Linked DNA regions of Homo sapiens: region 2 is linked to region 1. The links are contacts of gene promoters, found by promoter capture Hi-C in human tissues and cell types (Jung and others, 2019). All regions are on one chromosome and are shown on one strand. The core of a region is centred on a gene start or on the middle of the fragment in contact, and the rest is flanking DNA. Distances in the headings are between cores, read along the strand shown.

Region 1 (3,778 bases), core at 877-3,376:
AAACTCTATTCCCCTAAAAAGTGAAGACAGCCTTACCATCAACTAGTTATTCATATAAGCTATCTGCTTATATGAATCCGATCCTTGACCCAGTCCATTCCCAAATGGCCAGGGACTAGATATCCGTCACAAAAAAAGCAGCACGATCCAACAAGTGTGGGCCTTCCCTCAAAATATACTGAACTCCTCCATAGCACCTCCAGAAGTGGCCTCCTTCCCAACTAAGTACTGACAGAAATACTACTCTAGGACAATACTTGAAAGGCTGCTCCAGCACCAAAATAAGAATCCAAGTTATCAGACTGCAAGGAAGAGTTCAGGTCAGCATACCAAATGAAAAGCAATAAAGTTAGCACTAAACTCCCAAACAGGATAATCACCAACAACATATAGGCACCATGCTGCTGCCAGAAAACATCAAAGTCATCTGTGCTAGGAGGGGAAGGAGACTAGATGGCTGGAGGACAGAGATGGGAAGGAAGCTTACTTTTCACTTTGTACAACCACATGCATGCTTTTCTACTCAAAATATAAATTTTTAGAAAAAATGTCCTAAAAACTACAAAAGCATCAGCTCTTCTCCAACACAGATCTGTTAAACCTGTTTTAATTCCATCAGCTACAAATCCAAATCCCTCTTTTGCAGTCTGGCCTGAAAACACTGCTCTTGCCCTTTGCTGAAATATATTAAGTATCCTTCGCCTCTGCTGAAATGTATTAAGTATCCCCCCATCTCTCTCTCTCTCTTACACACACACACACGCACACACACACGCCCCCCAAATAAGCATTTATCAGAAATGAGAAAACTGGTTCTCAGGAGGCTACCTGATTTTCCAGGGGACAACAGAGAAAAGGTTGCTAGCTAGCTCAGTTAGCATCCACATGCCACCCACCACCAAGCCTCCATCTCCACCTCACTGCCAGCCCTATGAGCTAACATCTTGTGTTTGGAAGTTGATGCTGGGGAAGAATCCAAAGAGGCTACCATACCTTTATGAAACGGGAAAGCTGTACCGGGCGCGCGAATGGCACCTGAACCTCTGCACTCGCATGAGTGGCTCGCTCCTCAATGTAATTGAGAGCAGGGAGGCCAAAAGTACTCTAAGTCCCGGTGTGGTTAGGGAAGGGTAAGTTCCACCGACCCTCAGGAACTGAACTGGAAGACAGATCCAGTGTGTCCCACAAGCCCAGTCGCTGTAGAAGCTAAGTGCCCACATAGCCTGAGACAATTCTCTTCCCCTACGGGAGGGCGAGCGAACGGTGGACGACGAAATAAAGGGGTAAGGTTATGCGCTCCTGATCCCTTTCCCTAAATAAAGATAATTATCTGGTGCTTCCTTTACCCTTAGATTCCCCATTCGTCCCATCCGCCCGCAAACACAAGACTGAGCAGGGAGCGGCCCCCGCACCCTGAGGGCACCACTGGGGGTGGAGAGAGTTAAAAAAAAAAAGGGGGGGGCGCGCTAGAGAGGAAAGGAGGGGAGCATGGCGGGCATGAGGCAGGGAGTGAAAGCGGGGATGGCGGGGGAAACGGGGCGTGAGGGAGGGGAGAAAGAGTACAAGGAGACGAAATGAAGGGACACGAGCTGGGGGCGCGCGAGGCCGAAGTGAAAGACCGGGTCGCGCGCGCCAAGGGGGGAGAGGATGAGGTGAAGAAGGAGCGCGAGGCGGGGGCGCGCCGTGCCGGGGTGGGGGGAGGGGGACGCAAGGCGGGGGCGCGCGGGCGGGCGTCGGCTCGCGGGCGCTTCCCCTCCCCCCGCCCCTCCACCTTTCCCTTCCCCCACCTCCGCCACCACTGCCTCCTCCCAGCCTCCTTCCCTTCCTCGCTCCTCACCGCCCCCGGGCGGGCGGGCGGCCAGGCTGGCCTAGGCCAAAGCTCCTCACCTGGCGGTGGCGGTGTAACTCCCGGCTAGCTCGCCTCCTCAGGCGGCGGCGGAGGCGTCGAAAAAGGAAGAGGCGACGGCACAGGGGATCCAGACCCTGCTGACGGGACTAGGGACGGGGGTAGGGGAGGGGGGCGGGCCGGACCGGGGCGGGCGGGCGGAGCAGACACTGCGGTACAGACGGGGGCAGCGGCGGCGGCGACGGCTGCACCGGCGGCGGCGGCACCACACAAACAAGGACGCTGATTGGGCAGCTGCCAAGCGCCTCGGCTCCGCCTTACCCACACGCCACGACGCCCATTGGGCGACCTAAGCCGGCCACCCCGCCCTCATCTTCTCGGCCATGCCAGTAGAAGACTAGATGCCGGGACTTCACCCCACCCTTGAAGAATGAGTGGCCGGAGAAGTGATGATTGGCGTGCTTAAAACCCAATCATAAACGGAGGAGGGGGGATGGTCTAGCGGGGGCGCGTTAATGGGTACCTCTGCCAGTCCCAGACACATCCGGGTCTTCGACAGCCCATTAAGTGTCGGGGGTCAAAAAATCGCTTCAGGCTGCAACTTTACCTTAGAGACGTTTTGGTCCCCAGGCAGCCGCCGTACCCCAGTCTCTCCAAACCGGGATTCCCCTTTGGCCATCTCTCATTCTTTCAATTCTAAAGATGGAGACTGGCGAACGGCGATGGGGTCTGCGGTGGGCGGTGTTTCGTCGCGACAGACTCTAGGAAATTTCACGATAGAACTAGCTTTAGGCGCTTGAGCCTTGCCGTCTTTTTGGGGTGTGGCCTGTCTCCGTCTGCCAAAGGCTTTGAGCTTCCTGGTGTTCATCGTACCTCCGCTTGGTCCTGTCGTGACTAAACCACGACAGCAGGAAAAAAAAAAAAGCAGCTAGCCAAGTTGCTGAGGAATTACGGTGTGCAGAGCCCTCGCAGCTCCTTCTCTTGGGAACTCCTGGTCTGGTTAGGTTCTCAGCGAGGAAACAGCCTCCCACCCCGCCCGATTCCACCTAATTAACTCAAGGGCCAGCTCCTTTTGCTGGCCTCCCTGCTTCCACGGAGCAGTTAGGCCCGCCTAAACTCAGCGAGCGTTTCTGGAGCACCTTGAGGATAGGGACCAAGTAACAGAGTCCGGGTGTTAAGGTTATGATAGTAGTTAACGTTTTTGGAAAGAGACTGTGTCAGGCTCTGTGCTAAGAACTTTACATGAAGTATTTATTCCTCATGACTGTGAGGTAGGTACTGTTATCCCTACTTTACAAATGAGGAAAATTAGGATCAAAAAATTTGTCCAGTTACACGTTAAGTGGTAGAGCTGAAATTTGAACCCAAGTAGATGAGGAAACTAAGGCTCAGAGAGGTTAAGTAACTTGCCAAAGGTCAGACCGCTAGTTAGTGACTAAGCAGTGGTTTAAACCCAGAAACAACTGGTTCCACAGGCATTTTGTTATTGTTGTTTTCTCACTGTGTCTCCCAGGCTGGAGTGCAGTGGTACAATCTCAGTTCCTGCAACCTCCGCCTCCCAGGTTCAAACGATCCTCCTGCCTCAACAGCCTCCCGAGTAGCTGGGATTACAGGCGCGCGGCTAATTTTTGTGTTTTTAGTAGAGACGGGGTTTCGCCATGTTGGCCAGGCTGGTCTCGAACTCCTGACCTCAGGTGATCCTCCTGCCTCAGCCTCCCAAAGTGCTGGGATTACAGGTGTGTGAGCCACCACGCCAGCCTCCACAGGTATTTGAACATGTTTTTTAAATTATTTAAAAGTCATGCTGTGCAATGGAAATGAAATTATAATGGAGGACATGGCAACTTAAAGCCGTAGGTAGATCCTACACAAACACAGACGCACCCATTTTTTTTTTCTTTTTTTTCTTTGAGACAGTCTCCCTCTGTCGCC
Region 2 (3,778 bases), core at 938-3,437, 410 kb after region 1:
CCAAAGTGCTGGGATTACAGGCATGAGCTGCCGCGCCCGGCCTGCTTCATTATTTTCCTGAAGAGTTGCATCAGCTCACACTCCTCCCAGCAGCATATGGATGGGCCCTTGCCCTTGCATCCTCTTCGCTCAGCTCATTTTCTCTTTGTTTTATTGTCTTGTGGTTAGGCTGTAGACTGGACCTTAAGCAGTGGAATTCTTGTCTCCTGTTCAGGTGAAGTGATCTGTGAACCTCCCAACAACAAACTGGACAAATTCAGCGGAACCCTCTACTGGAAGGAAAATAAGTTCCCTCTGAGCAACCAGAACATGCTGCTGCGGGGCTGTGTGCTGCGAAACACCGAGTGGTGCTTCGGGCTGGTCATCTTTGCAGGTGAGCCTCCTAGCATCCAAAGAAAGAAGGGTAAGAGTGACTCAGCCAGCCCTCACTCAGGAGTATGGGATGAGGTGGGAGAATACCTAAGGTAAAAAACCTCCAGCTGTGTATACAGGCTTCTTATCTAGCCAGTATCTCTATTCCACCCTGGTGTCCTGCAGTCTGGGGATCAGGGCAGAAGCCCAGAGGCAGATGTGTTATTTGGCTTTCCCAGCCCTTCCCATTCTTTTCCAGGTCCCGACACTAAGCTGATGCAAAACAGCGGCAGAACAAAGTTCAAAAGAACGAGTATCGATCGCCTAATGAATACCCTGGTGCTCTGGGTGAGGCGCCCCACATCTGGCTCCCTGCCCCTGCCCTCTCTTCTCCTTGGGTGCTCCTTTTCCTTTCCTCTTTCTTCTTTGGTCAGTAGACTTCAGGTTTGGCTTTAAAGCTGCTAGCAGGTCAGCTACACAAAGGCAGTGTTTATTTTAGGCTCCTTTTAGTTGGAAGATGTTATTTAAAAAAACTTCAGGAACGTGCATGAATCAACAACTTAAAGCTAAAACAAATCATCCCTTCTCTGATTCCAGTTATGATGATGACTTTGTGAAGCATGTGACCTTCTGTTTGCTTTTGCCAGGGACAAGGAGGCCTTCATGGGGATGGAGAGGGAATTAAAAGAAAAATTTCCATTTGGAAGAGGTTGGCAGGGTCTTTTCCCCCCAACTTCTAAGAACGAAGGATCCCAAAGGAAAAGTTTCTGTTTAAGTTTTTGGCAGTTCCTGAATCCTTCTCTTGTTTAGCTAGAAATCTGAACTCCTTGTTGGGCTCTCCTCCCCTTCCTGTGCCCCGACTGTCTGCTGCCTGCCCGCCACATGCCAGCTTGTGAAGGCTGGGGCTAGCCTCTGGTGAGCTTGTTTCCGCCCTGGCTTTAAAGAGTGTGCGGAAACCCAGCCTGGTGGGCGAGGTTGTCTATCACATAAGGGCTCCAGTCGCCCCCTGGTGGCCATTGGGCACCAATCTCCTATTTTGTTTCAAAGCCTAAACAGCGGAGGCAGCTTTGGAAATAGATGTAGGAAATTGGACAGTGGCCTGGTTTTTTACCAGTCTCTCCAGAGACTCCAAAATTTATAAGATTTTTGACTAATCAGGAAATCTAGACCAGGAGTGGTGGCTCACACCTGTAATCCCAGCACTTTGGGAGACCAAGGTGGGAGGATCATTTGAGCCTAGGAGTTCGAAAACAGCCTGGACACCATAGTGAGACCCTGTCTTTACAAAAAACTGAAAAATTAGCCAGGTTTGGTGGCATGCACCTGTGGTCCCAGTTACTCTGGAGGCTGAGGCGGGGGGATTGCTTGGCCTGGGAGATTGAGGCTGCGTTGAGCTAGGATCATGCCACTGCACTCCAGCCTGGGCAACAAAGCAAGACCCTGTTTCAAAAAAGAAATCTACGTTTATGAAGATAAGTTTGTTTCCCAAGTTTAAAAAAAAAAAAGGCAATCTTAGCCAGGTGCAGTGGCTCACGCCTGTAATCCCAGCACTTTGGGAGACCGAGGTGGGTGGATCACGAGGTCAAGAGATCAAGACCATCCTGACCAACATGGTGAAACCCCATCTCTACTAAAAATACAAAAAAATAGCTGGGCGTGGTGGCGGGCACCTGTAGTCCCAGCTACTTGGGAGGTTGAGGCAGGAAAATGGCGTGAACCCGGGAGGTGGAGCTTGCAGCAGTGAGCCGAGGTCGCGCCACTGCACTCCAGCCTGGGCGACAGAGCAAGGCTCCATCTCAAAAAAAAAAAAAAAAGGCCATCTATGTGAGATAGTGAACATTACCGTGGCTTGGCATTTTTGTTGGCTTGTACCTAGCCCAGGTGAATAGATTATTTACAGTAAGTTTTCTGGTATGTTAAAAGTAGCTCATCCCCACTCTTACCAACTTTGAGGACTCTGGAAGGTTTCAAGGTGCCAGATTGAGAGCTAATCAACTATTTCAGTTTCTTCATCATATAGATGAAATAATGGTCAGACAGAAGGCCACATGATAATTGGTGACAGACTAGAACCTGTCACCAGTTCTGAGCTTTTTCCACTAGAGCAGTGGTGTCCAATATTTTGGCATCCCTGGGCCACATTGGAAGAAGAATTGTCTTGGGCCACACATAAAATACACTAACATTAACAATAGCTGATAAGCTTAGAAAAAAAAAATTGCAAAAAAAAATCTCATAAATTTTTTTTTTTTTTTTTTGAGACGGAGTCTCACTCTGTCACTAGGCTGGAGTGTAGTGCAATGGCATTATCTCGGCTCACTGCAACCTCTGCCTCTCGGGTTCACGTGATTCTCCTGCCTCAGCCTCCCTAGTAGCTGGGATTACAGGTGCCCGCCACCACACCCGGCTAATTTTTTTGTATTTTTAGTAGAGATGAGAGATGGGGTTTCACCATGTTGGCCAGACTGGTCTCGAACTCCTGACCTCATGATCTGCCCGCCTTGGCCTCCCAAAGTGCTGGGATTATAGGTGTGAGTCACTGCACCTGGCCTTTTTTTTTTTTTTTTTTGAGACAGGTTCTTGCTCTGTTGCCCAGGCTGGGATGCAGTGGCATGATCTTGGCTCACTGCAATGTCTGCCTCCCGGGTTCAAGCAATTCTCATGCCTTGGACTCCTGAGTAGCTGAGACTACAGGCAAGTGCCACCAGGACTGGCTAATTTTTTTAATGTTTTTAGTAGAGACGGGGTTTCACCGTGTTGGCCAGGCTGGTCTCAAACTCCTGACCTCAGGTGATCCATCCGCCTCAACCTCCCAAAATGCTGGGATTACAGGCTTGAGCCACTGCGCCCAGCCCATAATAGTTTTTTTTTTTTTTATAATTATTTTTCATTTAACATTCAGCTGTTACCAAAATCTCATAGTGTTTTAAGAAAGTTTATGAATCTGTGTTGGGCCACATGTGGCCCAGAGACCATGGGTTGGACAAGCTTGCACTAGAGCATCTGAGCTTTTGAGGGCTCAAGGGATGAATACATCACAGATGCACTTGGTTTTGAGGGCTTCCTACATGTCAGCCTCGCCTGTGCTTCTCATTCCTCCCCAGATTTTTGGATTCCTGGTTTGCATGGGGGTGATCCTGGCCATTGGCAATGCCATCTGGGAGCACGAGGTGGGGATGCGTTTCCAGGTCTACCTGCCGTGGGATGAGGCAGTGGACAGTGCCTTCTTCTCTGGCTTCCTCTCCTTCTGGTCCTACATCATCATCCTCAACACCGTTGTGCCCATTTCACTCTATGTCAGGTATGTGCCTTCTCTGACCTGGGGTCTCTCCAGGGAGTCAGGCGGTCCCATAGAACTTTTCTTTTCTATGAAGATGAAGTCCTTGAGAAGTAACGAGAAGTCCTCTTCTTCCTGTACTGTAAACAT

The links. Contacts are between HindIII fragments. The study calls those that stand out against the background at their distance.
Region 2: a contact is called between a fragment that was not itself captured here and the fragment with the promoter of GATAD2B in region 1, in 1 of the 25 tissues and cell types used here (heart right ventricle).

The regions. Positions count from the first base shown.
Region 1 is chr1:153,920,846-153,924,623 of GRCh38, forward strand. It overlaps GATAD2B (GATA zinc finger domain containing 2B), which reads right to left and starts at 2,127. Exons shown (of 11, transcript NM_020699.4): 1 at 1,888-2,127. LOC101928059 (a long non-coding RNA gene) reads left to right here and starts at 2,528. Exons shown (of 4, transcript XR_922160.3): 1 at 2,528-3,117. RefSeq lists silencers at 1,911-2,230, 2,908-3,202 and an enhancer at 2,361-2,600. The HindIII fragment of the contact is 10,081 bases long and covers 7-3,778 here.
Region 2 is chr1:154,333,893-154,337,670 of GRCh38, forward strand. It overlaps ATP8B2 (ATPase phospholipid transporting 8B2), which reads left to right. Exons shown (of 28, transcript NM_001370597.1): 10 at 215-373; 11 at 611-699; 12 at 3,456-3,652. Among named protein-coding and RNA genes, the nearest start is that of ATP8B2, 10 kb to the left of the region's middle. The HindIII fragment of the contact is 3,033 bases long and covers 672-3,704 here.